Regions from separate parts of the Homo sapiens genome. Here regions 1 and 3 are each linked to region 2. The links are contacts of gene promoters, found by promoter capture Hi-C in blood cells and fetal thymus (Javierre and others, 2016). All regions are on one chromosome and are shown on one strand. The core of a region is centred on a gene start or on the middle of the fragment in contact, and the rest is flanking DNA. Distances in the headings are between cores, read along the strand shown.

Evidence for each region. Contacts are between HindIII fragments. The CHiCAGO score rates a contact against its expected background, and 5 or more counts as called.
Region 1: a contact is called between a fragment that was not itself captured here and the fragment with the promoter of NOC3L in region 2, in 1 of 17 cell types (monocytes). The highest score is 6.4, in monocytes.
Region 3: a fragment that was not itself captured here is called in contact with the fragment with the promoter of NOC3L in region 2 in 1 of 17 cell types (activated CD4 T cells); the score reaches 7.8 in activated CD4 T cells.

Annotation. Positions count from the first base shown.
Region 1 is chr10:90,873,055-90,877,270 of GRCh38, forward strand. It overlaps RPP30 (ribonuclease P/MRP subunit p30), which reads left to right. Exons shown (of 11, transcript NM_006413.5): 2 at 1,815-1,870; 3 at 2,504-2,560; 4 at 2,970-3,044. Among named protein-coding and RNA genes, the nearest start is that of RPP30, 3.2 kb to the left of the region's middle. The HindIII fragment of the contact is 2,904 bases long and covers 456-3,359 here.
Region 2 is chr10:94,361,225-94,365,749 of GRCh38, forward strand. NOC3L (NOC3 like DNA replication regulator) reads right to left here and starts at 1,715. Exons shown (of 21, transcript NM_022451.11): 1 at 1,606-1,715; 2 at 441-648. The coding sequence starts at 1,614. RefSeq lists an enhancer at 1,389-1,648 and a silencer at 1,789-1,918. The HindIII fragment of the contact is 1,523 bases long and covers 621-2,143 here.
Region 3 is chr10:98,137,058-98,141,694 of GRCh38, forward strand. The region is part of intron 1 of R3HCC1L (R3H domain and coiled-coil containing 1 like); the gene reads left to right. Among named protein-coding and RNA genes, the nearest start is that of R3HCC1L, 4.7 kb to the left of the region's middle. The HindIII fragment of the contact is 209 bases long and covers 2,320-2,528 here.

The sequences.
Region 1 (4,216 bases), core at 658-3,157, 3.5 Mb before region 2:
AATGAGGCTTTTCCTGACGCCATCCCATTTTTGAATAAATCATGAGCTTCCTAAGAGAATTGCCATGTCTTATCCTTTTATTTACTGTGCTTAACACGTTCACTCTGCAGGCACCAGTACATGGCAGTTACTCAGTTAATGCTTGTGGAATAAACTGAACACATTAAAAAAATTAATACAAAAAAGAAAAGTTAATAATGATTTCTTTAGAGAATTTCCCCCAGTTTAAAATACACTTGGAAGAGGTGTGGTAATATATGTACATTGTTAGTGGTTATTTGTTTGTAAATTAAATGGAATTCATGGCATATAAAGTTGCCTCAACTTACAAGTCAAAGACAAAGGACTGCTCTGCTATTTGATGAGTCTGGAACTAAATAGTGGACATTTGCAAAGAATAGGAAAGACAGAGCCCTGGTTCTCAGTTTCTGATGTGATACAAGAAACCAATAATAAGCTTCAGAAATATACTGTGTAAATTAAAATACCCTAAAGCCTGATTGGGGAAGTAAGTACTCCTAAGCTGCCAGATGAGGAGTAGTCTAGGAAAAAGTTTTGTGGAGAAACAGATCCTAGTTGACATTTCTGTAGAACGGTAGGGACATTGTTTAGTAGCCAAAAGGATATCCTAAATGGGTATAACAAGGAAGTTTAGAGCAGATTTGGGAGTGTGGTAAAGAAGAATAGGGAGGAGGTGTGGCTGGTTGATTTGACTAACTGGGTGCAAGGTGAAGCCCAAGGTACAGGCATACTTGTGATTTTTTTTTTGTTTTTAAGGGTAACTTTCTTCAGGGAGCCTTTTGTGACCCCTACACCAGGTTTCACTGTGCTATGTACTTCCATAGAATCCTTACTTATAAAAAACATGTATTTATATACAATGACTTGCTTAATTGCCTTATTTGCCTTCGTTCTCCAACAGACTAGGCTGTAAATTTCTTGTGGAGAAGGATTATATTATTTATCCTGTATGCTCAACACCAGTTTAGGGCTTGTCAAGTAATGGATGCTCAGTAAATATTTGAGGGAGGAAGGGAAGAAGGAAGTTGGACAAACTGTTGAGAGTTTGGCATTGATATGTATTTTAATGTTAATATCCTTTCATCCCCATTGGTATTTTTAAAAATTAAAGATGGGAGTCATGATTTAGATTTTTTTTTGGTAGCCCAAATGTCCAGAACAGTGCTAACTGATGAGGATAATAAAGCAAGCCCTTGACCTCAAGGAGCTCCCAGTCTGTCGATGGTGTGCAGCTTAAAATGGGAAGCGGGCAGTGGTGTGAGGGAGTTATCACTCCATTTCTCCTTAGGAAAGGAGTCTCTGAAGGAAGTAGAAGGATAAAAAGCAAAAGAAATGAACGGGAATAAAAGTGACAGTGATAAAGTAGGAACTTGATGGGATAAAAATGAATATAGGGTCATGAAAGAGAATGACATTTGAAAAGGAGAAGCACAAAGTTAAGAGTCTTTAGTATCATTTTAATAATAATTCATAATGGTTAAACAAAGACCTGTGTGCCAGGCACTGTTCTCAAACACCTCATGTGTATTATTTCATTTAAATTTCATGACAGTGTATGAAGAAAGTGTTGTTATTTTCACCATTTGACAGATGAGGAACCTGAAACTTCATGTTAAGTAACTTGTAAGTGGTAGTGCATAGACTTTAAATCAGGCAGACTGACACTAGAGTTCACATTCATAACCACTCCTCAAATGTCCTCCTACTCTTGACATCTAGACTCAGGATGGACCTGTGTTACAGGAAGGAGAGGTTGTTATATTTAACAAAAGTGTTCAATTTTTCTTTTTCAGTTGGCTATTCAGTTGTTGCTATCAATCATATCGTTGACTTTAAGGAAAAGAAACAGGTAAAATAATATTTCTAAAGTTAATAAGTTCATAAATAAGTATTTGTAATTCTGTTTGTATTGGTAATTTGGAAGCTACAGATTAGAATATTTCTTAAATGCACCCCTTTGTGCACTACTACTTTTCTATTTTATATAGAAACAGTCGAGCTGATGCATATTTATACAATGATGATTTTTGTGAGGTAATATGACATAGTGTTCAGGATTCTTAAAGGTGATTTGAAATTAAGTTACTTTTCACTGTTCAAAAAGTGCATTGTTATTGGCTGGACTGTAATCAAAATATTTAGTCCTTTTTATTCTATTGTCATGGGCTTATTAACTACTTTCTCTCTTAAACATTACTAATAAGTATGTATATTTCTCTTTAGGCCAACAACTGTATCCTGTAGATTATTTCAGTCTAAAAATTAGTTTTCATTCTTCCTATTCACTGATGTTTACAGTTGCTTCTCTATTTAGCTTTCTTTTTAAAAATAATTTTTAAAAGTTTTTTTGAATACCAGAAATCACCTTGCTTTCTTTTTAAAAAAAATGCATATTTTTTCTGAGAACACCTCGTAATTTTTCCATTATGCCTTGTGCTATTAATGGATACAATCTGCAGTAACTATTTATCGTTTGTTGTAGGAAATTGAAAAACCAGTAGCTGTTTCTGAACTCTTCACAACTTTGCCAATTGTACAGGTAGGTGTTTTGTTGTTTACGAAGCATAATATCTATTTATTCAGTTAAAAGGTACCTAATTATTGTGCTATTCTCTAGCTTGAGCTGCACCTTACTCTGAGTACCAGTCTTAACGTTTTCCTCAAGGCTCAGCTCTTCAGGAAACATTCTTTTACTATCAATTCAGCATTGCTTTGATGATCTTCTTTCCTGAAGTCCTACAATTTTTAAATTATCTCGTTATGTAGTTTAAGATATATACATCTCTTTCTGTGGCTGTATTGTAAATTCCTAGAGAACAAGGACTGGGTTTTATTGATCTTCACTATCCCTTATAGCCAGTACCTTTTAATGAATACTTTCCACTGGTAAAAAGGAAAATCAATTATTGTCTTTTGTGCTTTTTTGACATCATGTCTTTTTTAAATAGGGAAAATCAAGACCAATTAAAATTTTAACTAGATTAACAATTATTGTCTCGGATCCATCTCACTGCAATGTTTTGGTAAGTTAATTATTTTTCTTCTCTCCTTTTGGCTTTGTGAGTTGTATTGATTAATGTTGAACAATGTTGCATTTTGTCTTCCCCATTTTACATTTTCCCTCGCCCCCGCCAAACCATGACACCTGCTTGCTCTCCTTGTCCTCAGAATTCACACAGTGTAATATGTCTGTTCCACTTACTCATGGCACATGTGTAGTGATACCACAATTAAAGAATCCCTTGGCAACTGTTACTCATTGAACTCACGTGCACCAGACTTAAGGTGGGTGCTGGGGGGTATTGCCATGAATAATAGCACAATCCTTGAACTTATAAAGCTTAAAGTTTAATTGGCAAGGCAAGCACTGAACAAATAATAATTACAAATGTAAGGAATGTTCCAAGGTAGGGAAGTGGTAAATAAAGGATGCTCTGGGAGTATGTAACCTGAGTAAGTTGATATTCAAGCTGGGAGACAGAAGAGTCAGTAAATGTTAAATAGGTGACAAGCAGGGAGCTAATGTTCCCAGATAGGATGGATTATGCATAGGTCCTGAAGCTAAGGAAAACGTGGTATTTTCTGGGAAGTGAAACAAAACAATAGGGCTAAGCCTAGTGAGCCGGTTACATGGCATAAGGTTAAAGATATAAATTTGGGTGAGGATTCCAAGAGCAGTTGGAAGCCCTTGAAGGTTTTAACTAAGGGAGTGAAATGAGGTTTGAATTACAGAGAATGGATTAGAGGGAGTTAAGGAGGGTACTTAAGAGGCATCCAGGAGGGAGAATTGATGGGATTTATTGGTTAATTGGGTGTAGGATGATTACTCCCTAGGTGGCCTGAGCAGCCAGGTAGGTAATGGTGTACCATTTCCTGAGACGGACCATACAAACCAGCAGGTTTGGGGGCATCCTGATGAGTTACTGTGAGAGTTTCAAAAGAGCCCGTCAAAAAAGATGTGCACAGTGGCTCATGCCTGTAATCCCAACATTTTGGGAGGCCTAGGCAGGCAGATCACTTGAGGTCAGGAGTTCAAGACCAGCCTGGTGAAAGTGGTGAAACCCCATCTCTACTAAAAACCCAAAAATTAGCAGGCCGTGCTGGCGGGTACCTGTAATCCCAGCTACTCAAGAGTCTGAGGCAGGAGAATCACTTGAGCCAGAGAGGCAGAGGTTGCAGTGAGATCACACCAGTG
Region 2 (4,525 bases), core at 465-2,964:
ACCCCAAGTTTCCACATGAAAAGAAAGTCAGAAGTTTAGAAGTGTACCTTGGCAATACTGTGAAGAATGAACCAGAGACAAGCAATGTTCTTACCTTACCTAACTGCTGGTGAATGGCAAAGTGGCAGCACTGGCACACTGCCCAATATTTATGTAACGGAGTACTTTCAGTTTGTTTTCCCAAGTAGTGCATCTTCAGATCTGCCTTCCAGACAAACTAAAAGCAGAAGCTTGAATGAATACTGTATTGAAATGTTTTCTCATACTGACTGTGATAAAGCATATATGCTTTATAGCAGTCCTATAGGACTACTATCCTTACCCACTCTAGGAAGATCTGAGAACAAGAAAAGCGATTACTAGAAAGCAAAGTTATTTCCATGAAGAACACTTCAGAATAAATCAATGGAAACCAGAGCACATGATGTTTTCACAATTACCTGGTCGCTTTTCCTTTGGGTTCTCCAATGGAATGGGTTTCTTAGACACAGCATCTTTCACAGCTTGCCTTAGTTTCCTCTGTTCTTTTCGGTACTTCTTGAGAGTGCTTTGTTGTTTAAACTGCTTATTTTTTAGCTTGTTTTCAAGTTTGACTTTACTAGTTTTTATTAACTTGCGAAAGCTTGGGATCTGTTTTTTATTTCTTCTCTAGAAAATAACAGAAAGAATACTGCATACCCAGAAACTTATTTTTTAAATCAGGTTAAAGAGAACTGATTACAAATTTCATTAGACCAATTCCACAATTTCAATGTCCCACAGCCACAGACTTGCATATAAAAGCTAAAACCAAACGATGGCTTTAATCCTACAGAAGAGCGCTACAGCATCAGTTATTCAATCCCAATTCACAGCAATTCAAAGGGTTCTACGATCCCCAAACAGGTTAAGAACCACTGATCTAGTAGTGGTAAGTGGCTATTCAAGGCTAGTTTAACACACCTGTAGTTTAACACATTCAAAGCAAAATGCTGGCTGTCTTTAATAAAACTTACATTTATCTACGATTTTATTACTTACAAAGTGCTCCAACAAATCACCTCTAACAGCCTAGTTGAGTACTGACTGCTGTTATCCTCACATTACTGATGAAGCTGCCAAAAGACCCATAAACTAAGGAGGGCAAAACTGAATTCGGATCTTTGGATTCCACTTCTCTTGCTGGTGACTCATTCAGAAATCCCAAAGTTAGTCCTGAACCCCAGGACTACCTCTTATTTTCTGGGAGAACCAGGACAAATCACTTGCTTTTCTATCTCTTTACCCTTCATGGGTACCGTGACTCACATTATAAACTCGCTGAGGGTAGGACCCTGCTTCTCATTTGTGAAAAACGAGTTCGAAAGACGGTCTTGAAAAATTCCTTCAAAGTATGAAATCCCACGCATGCAAAACTCCGTGCCTGTCTCTTCGTGATACTCTGAAGTGGTGCGCGCACACAGTGGGTAACCAAGGATGAGCTCGGTGTAAGGAATGGAAAGCCCCCAGTCTAAACCACCGCCCCCTAGACACGGGTGAAAACCTGCCTAAAAGCTAACTCAGGCAGTGACTCTATCACCCGAAGGGGCCCTAGGCCGCGGCGACCGGGCTTTTGAGGACACTTACCGCCTTCATCCTTAGGCCTTAAATGAATGCCGGCCAGACAAGTTCACCAGAAGCAGGGTTACTACAGAAATCCCGGGGAATGACACACGTGCCGAAGTCCCTACACTACCAGAGCCGGAAACGGCCTTCAGTCCCTCCCAATCCTCCGCCGCCGGAAGTGAGGGCGGGACTTCCGTAGACAGGTTCGGGCTCGCGCCCTCTCGCGGTGACTGTCTCGCGGCCCTGGACCGGTTGCCCCCCGGCGTGCGCGCGCGGACTGGCACGAGGGAAGCCCCGAGGGCGTCGGTGCCAAAGGCGGGAAGCCGGGCGGGAGGGGCGCATTTTGCAAGGTTATCTGAGTATGATTCTTTGACTCTCGCCCTATTTATTTCTTTTAAAACCTTGGGGAAATCGGGCTCCTCCTCTCAGAATGAGAGGACTTGGTTTTTTCGGTCACCTCATTGCATTTTGTGCCTCTCCTCACGTTGCTTATCTCATGCTGTTATAGATACTGATTTTCGTAGTCTTTTTCCTCCATACAGTCCTGAGGGCAGAAAGAAGCTTATTTTTTGTGTGTAATGCCTGCCCCTCGACGGACATTCTGGCCGTGTTTGTAGCATGGCGAATGATTTCTCATCAGCCTTGGTCACTTAAAAGTCTGTGATTCTTAGTGTTTTATTTTGCATTTTTTTTTTGCTTTAATTTTTAACCATTAGCTGATAAAGAACTGTATCCATGGCTGGGTGCGGTGGTTCACGCTTGTAATCCCAGCACTTAGGGAGGCAGAGGCGGGTGGATCACCTGAGTTCCAGGAGTTCGAGACCAGCCTGGCCAACATGGTGAAACCCTGTCTCTACTAAAAATACAAAAATCAGCCAGACATGGTGGCGTGCGCCTGTAATCCTAGCTACTCGGGAGGCTGAGGCAGGAGAATCGCTTGAACCCAGGAGGCAGAGGTTGCAGTGAGTCGAGATCACACCACTGCACTCCAGCCTGGGTGACAGAGCAAGACTGTCTAAAAAATAAAAATAAAAATAAAAAACTGTATCTGCATTTCAGTATCTTACAACTTTGGGTAAATTCTGTCTGCTTAGTAATTTCACCAAAGTCGTTTTTTGTTTTTGTTTTTTGAGACGGAGTCTTGCTCTGGCGCCCAGGCTGGAGTGCAGTGGCGCAATCTGGGCTCATTGCAAGCTCTGCCTTCTGGGTTCACGCCATTCTCCTGCCTCAGCCTCCCGAGTAACTGGAACTACAGGCGCCCGCCACCACGCCCAGCTAATTTTTTTTGTATTTTTAGTAGAGACGGGGTTTCACCGTGTTAGCCAGGATGGTCTCGATCTCCTGACCTCGTGATTCGCCCACCTTGGCCTCCCAAAGTGCTGGGATAACAGGCATGAGCCACCGCGCCCCGCCTAAAGTCGTTCATTTTTACAGGAAGTTTTATGGATTGCAAGAATAAGAGTATCAAAGTGCTTGTCTCTCAAAGACTTTTTTTTCTCAATAAATTTAAGCATTCCACTTCAAGTTTTTTGTGGGTTTTTTTGAGTCTATGATTTTTGAGCATGGCCCTGACACAGAGTCTGGCCTCGCAGTCCTGAGCAGGTGGGAAAACCCAGTAGTGCGGCTCAAAGGGTTCTGAGCCCCTTGAATAGTGTTGCTCTTAGAGAGACTGAGGGAAAAAAGTACCAATTTCCTGATCCCACCACAAAGACCAAGAGGTCCATCTGGCACTCTTCTTTCAACCTCCCTTCCAACTTCTTCCTTGCTCTGTCTCCTTCCACACAGTGTCAGAAACAGCAGAGCCTGTCCCGCTGGAGTATTACTTCATCAAACAAGTGGAAAACATCAGCCTGTGCTCTTCCCAAGTGCCTGAATTCCCTCCCAAGCATATCAACATATCTACAGTCACTCCCATCCTTTTAGCCTTCCTTCCAGTCTCTCCAAGGATGAGGCATCCCCATTCCAGTTCAAAACCAACTCCTCCCAGCTTCATCAGATTCTTGTATCATTAATTATCCCTTCTTTCCTGTGTTCTTTCCCTCTCTAATAGATCCTTCCCCTCAGCTTATAAACATATTCAAATCTCTTCCATTTTTAAGATTTGTTCTAATAAACTTATCTCCCTTTAATTGCTCTTTTATGTGCCTCTTTTCCTACTTGTCCCTACTTCCAGAAAAAAGTATTCTTTTAGCGTCTCCACTTTCTCTTCTCTATTGTCATAGCCCAATCCTGTGCTAGTATTTTCTTTTTTAATATAAAGATTGCCTTTTTTTATTTTTTTTCTCTGTTGCCCAGGCTGGAGTGCAGTGGCAGCTCTCAGCTCACTGCAGCCTCAACCTCCCAGGCTCAAGGGATCCTCCACCTCAGCTTCCTGGGTAGCTGAAACTACAGGCACGCACCACCATGCCCGGCTAATTTATATTATTTGCAGAGATTTGGTCTTGCTATACTGCCTAGGCTGGTCTCAAACTCCTGGGCTCAAGCAGTCCTCCCACCTCAACCTCCCAAAGTGCTGGGATTACAGGCATGAGCCACCATGCCCAGCATGTGCTAGCTTTTTTAAGAACTGTGTCATACTCTTGGCCCATTTTAAGTTTACAATCAACTAAAATCTCTGGATCATTTTAAAGCAATTGTTGCCAAGCTAAATCTCTCCCATCTTGAATTCGAGCAGCCTGTTGTTCGAAAATACTCAAAAATGGAAGTTTATATGATTCCTTTTAATTCCATTTAATCTTGCTGGTTTCTTAATTCTGTGTGTCCACCTTTGTGTCATCTCTTCTTCACTCAATCCACTGCCAAGCCCCATTTGGACTCCAGATCCTCTTAGATCCCTTAGAGCTTTCCTGGACACTTGAGCTGATAAGGGTCACTGGGCTTTCCCAAACTAGTATCACAGGGATTGTACCTGGAGATTCCTGTTAGCACTTTCAGGAAGTCT
Region 3 (4,637 bases), core at 1,174-3,673, 3.8 Mb after region 2:
AAAATTAGCTGGGCGTGGTGGCGTGCGCCTGTAGTCCCATGTCCTCAGGAGCCTGAGGTAGGGGAATCGCTTGAACTCGGGAGGCTGAGGTTGCAGTGAGCCGAGATCACACCACTGTGCTCCAGCCTGGCGACAGAGCAAGACTCCCGTCTCAAAAAAAAAAAAGTTTGTAAGCATTTTGGATTTCGGATTTTCCGATTAGGGATTCTCAACCTGTAGTTTTTGATTTTGGGCAAATTAGTTGACTTCTCTGAGCCTGTTTCCTAATCTCTCAAATGGAGGTAAATGGCATTATGTCACAAGGTGTCTACAAAGATGAAATGAGATGTGACCATAAATGGCTTACTAGTGCTGGGTACAAATAAAGTTCTCATTATTTTGTTGCTGTTGTTATTGATGATTATGATAATAGTGATGATGATAATTTTAGGTATTTTCCTGAAATTCCATTTATCTGTAAAATGAGGATAGTCATCCTTAATTCACAAACTTTAAAAAATACTGTAAATAGAAGTTGTCAGATTGCAGTTTGTTTTTTAGCAATTGCATTTTATATAAAAATTATATTAGATTTTTTTTCAACTTTAGAGGTTCCTAAAATGCTGTTGTGCAAGGTTATTGGGCTTTGCTGTGTTTCTGTTTTTCTAGAGATTCCAAATGTTGCTTTGTACCTAGTTTGTTGAAATTGAACTGGTGCTTCATTTACAACCTGTAGTAAGAATGCAATTCTGTACATTGTAGCTTGTAGCAGAGCAATTATCTATCTTTATGACTCAGATATTGACTAGGATAGACGTTTATGGAACAGTTTTGTCTTCCTGCCTTATTTTTATTTTTATTTTTTTTAAGCCAGACTATTAGACTTTAAAATTTAAGCTTATTGGATAGGGTCTGGGAGACTTGGTGACCTTCATTTTTTCAAGATGGCATTTCTTAGTGACTGATGCTAATGATGGCATTGGTATGTATGTATCTGCAGGGAGTGAGAGTTGAGAAAAACCAAGGAGGAAAGCCTTATAGAGAAAAATGGTTTGTTGGTCAAGGCAAAGTCTTGGAGTTTAGAATTGAAGTATATATTTTTTACTTCCTTCAAGTGCCATGTTGACTACCAGATATCTGCAGATTCAGATGCTTAGGAAATGTTTCCTTTACTCTCTTTTTTGATGTGGTATGCCTGTGCTATGTTTTGCCAGCTTCTTTCTTACCTTTAGTTATGAATCAGCAAGATAACTATTTTTTCACACCAGACTTGTATACAAAGCTATGACAATAGAAAGTCACTTCCATTAAAATCTACTTTGTATGCTATAATGTGTTAATTTTTCCTTTATGTTTTAATCTTAAACACTTTTGGCTGGGCCTGGTAGCTCACTCTTGTACTTTCAGCATTTTGAGATCCTCTGAGGTAGGCTCATTTGAGGCCAAGAGTTCAAGACCAGCCTGGGCAACAAAGTGAGACTTCATCTTTATTAAAAAAAAAAAATCAATTAAACACTTTTGTTCCTTGACTGTTTTTTACTTAAAAGGAATTTTTGGAAGGTATGCTAATTCTCATCTATAGTGTGTGAGTATGTATAGTGGATGCTCAGTAATGAGTGTGCTGAATAGTTCTGAATAGGAACATTTTGTTGATTGTCCTAGGTCACTGAGGTGCACTCTGGAGAGGCCATGTAGCATTGTGGCAATAACCTATGCTTTGGAGTCAAGACAGACCAAGGTCTGAATCCAGGCTCACTAGATGTAACTTTGGTTCATATGATCATTCTGAATTCAGTTTCTCATCATCTGGAAGACAGATTAGACTAACCCTGCATGGTTGAGAAGATTAAAGATTATTCGAATGAGGCACATATTAGCCAGGTTTAGTATAATATTAAAGATTGGGGTGGTGTTGTTATTACTATTTTTAATTTTTATTTTTTTTCTGAAAGGTATGGATTTTGTTGATACATCTATATTCATTCCCCTAATGCTTCAATGATCAGTGTGTTTCTTAGCCAAGGTTAAGGTTGTTGACTGTGACCATGGAACCTAGAAACACACAGCAAAGCTAATTGGCCAGCATGGAGTTTGAGTCTGTGACCTTGTCCTCATTAGCTCCATAAGCTAACTATTCACAAATATCTCACCAGAATGAATGAAAAGACTGGTATATTTTTTATTTGGCCCTAATGCAACTCATTAGACATAAGTAAATGAACTAGTGCCAGAAGCAAAAGTATAGATTTTTCATTAGCTTATATAAATATATGATTAGCCGTCACACTATGTATAAAACTCGTGACCTGTAGGATGATCTTTGACAACCCCAGTAACCTAAGCTTATAATTTAGACATTTCTTTTAGTTGTTGAATTATATTTGTTGTAGACTTCTCACCTATAGGAGAAGTGAGAAGAAATGGAGCTAGGCTATTCATGCCTTGAAAGAGTACCCTCCTTCTGTTGTGCTACCCACGAGGAAATGTGCTCTTCGCTAGTGCAGAAAACATTTAGAATTATCCAGTAATGAGCCCAGCAGGATGGATGAAGCTTGGGGAACTCCTAAGAGCTTATTGAATTACAGAGAAATTCCAGTTGTCAAAGCATTAGATAGAGGAAAAGTTATAGGGTGTTACTTAGCAGCAGTAAGCCTGCATTTGGAGAGAATTTTCTTTTCTCTTAATAAAACATGGACCAATTGCTTCGAGTCTGTGGTGTCCATTTTTCACTGTCTCATGCTAGCCTTCTGTATAGTTTTTCATTCTTCAAATTCACCCTTCAGTTTTATTAATATTTGTTGTCCTTCTTGTATCTTTTTTTTTAATGCCAGATATAGCTGGATTGGGACTAGGGATAAAAACAGAAGCAGAGAAGCACTGTTGGAAAACAGATTCTAGTATCTAGTATCGTGAGGTTTCCAAATAACATGGGTCAAACTGAACATGAGGATACGGATTTCTGGGATAGGCAAATGGCTGACAGTTCATGACCATTTAACCTGTGCAGAGTGAATAATGTGGGCAAAAGGTGTGTAGCACTCCTTAATATCACATTTGTCTCTTAGAAAAGAATCTGAATGCCTGTAGTGTTCATATTGGCTTGCAGTTGTGCTGTTTCAAGTTCTTTGCCATGGAATGCCAGAAGACTATTAAAGAAAGAAGGGAAGCAGTTGGATTTACATCCTGATTTCTCAAATTGTATGCCAGTCGTCCTGTTTCTGTTTTCTTGTCTTTAAAATAGGGTTAATAAAACCAACTCTGCTTGTTTATAAATATTAAAAGGAAAAGTAAACAGCAAGGATGTATTAAAAATGAGGTGGATAACTGGGGGAGAGACGGAAAGGCAGAATCCAAGAGAGGAGCTCAAAGACACCTACACACAGAGTCATAGAGACACATGCAATAGGCAGAGAGAGAGGAGGGTCAGTCAGAGACAGAGAAGTCAAAAACAGAGAGGGACAGTCACCTAGGCAGAGTTAGAAAGCAGGGTAATCAGAGATGTAGACAGACGGGCAGAGTTAGAAATGAGGGACAGACAGATACAGGGAGGGAGACAGAAAGAGTGAATGTCATGAGTAAGATGGAGAGCTTATTGGATTTTTGTCTGTTATTTGAGAAGAACATGTAAATATTTATAGTTGGCTAGGAAAGGGAAAATAAACAGATATTAATAGTAAATCAAGTAACATGAAATTTTTATTACACTAACATTTTTCCTTAAATACTAAGTTTATTTTGCATATTCAGCATGCAAATATCAAGTCAATTTATGTATTACCTGTTAACTACTTACGTGACCTCTCAGTGTAGTTTAAACACATTTTTAAAAAAATTAAGATTAATATTAATTTTTTCCTCAAAAAATCTAATATATAACTTACTATAGAAAACATGGCAAATACAGGAAATTTAAAAGGAGAACAGAAAACACTCATAATCTCACAATCTAAACATAACATAATGAGGCCCACATTTTTCATGTTTTTTTTTTCCCAGTCTTCTTTTTCTAGGCATTTACTAAAGCCCATCTACTTTCCTGAAGGACCCAAAAGCTGTTTATAAGTCCAAAATGATGCTGTAACTATTTGTGGCAGAGTTAACTTTATAATCCTATTTTGGCACTTAGGTACTTTCATAAACTAGTGTGTACCCATTTTATTCTCTTCCTAGATTGTAAACTTTTAACTACAGACTATATGTTATTCATCTTTGTGTCTTAGGAATCTAGGAAAGTATCTTACATATCATAGGTATTCAGGGTATATATGAGATGAATTGTTAAGCCTCCTAAGTAGAAACTGTCTTATTTAAACAGGTCTGCCAAATTGCACATTGGATTGGACCTTCCTTAAAGTTGAGAAAAACTTGATTTTAGGGGTGGTGTGTATGTGTGTAATGTAAAGCTACCAAACTGGGAAAGGGCACTTTTTTTCTGGTTACCTTTTGTTGTGTTTGTAGCAAGCCATTCCAAAACATAATGGTGTAAAACAACCATTTTATTGTGCTATGGATCTGTTGGAATTCAGACAGGACAGTTTCTGCACAGATGGCTTGCTTAAGCCTTAGCTGGGAAGATTCAAAAGCTGGTGGTGACTTTATGGCTGGTACTTAGAACCTGGAGGCTTCTTCACTCACATGGCTGGTGATTGATGTTGATT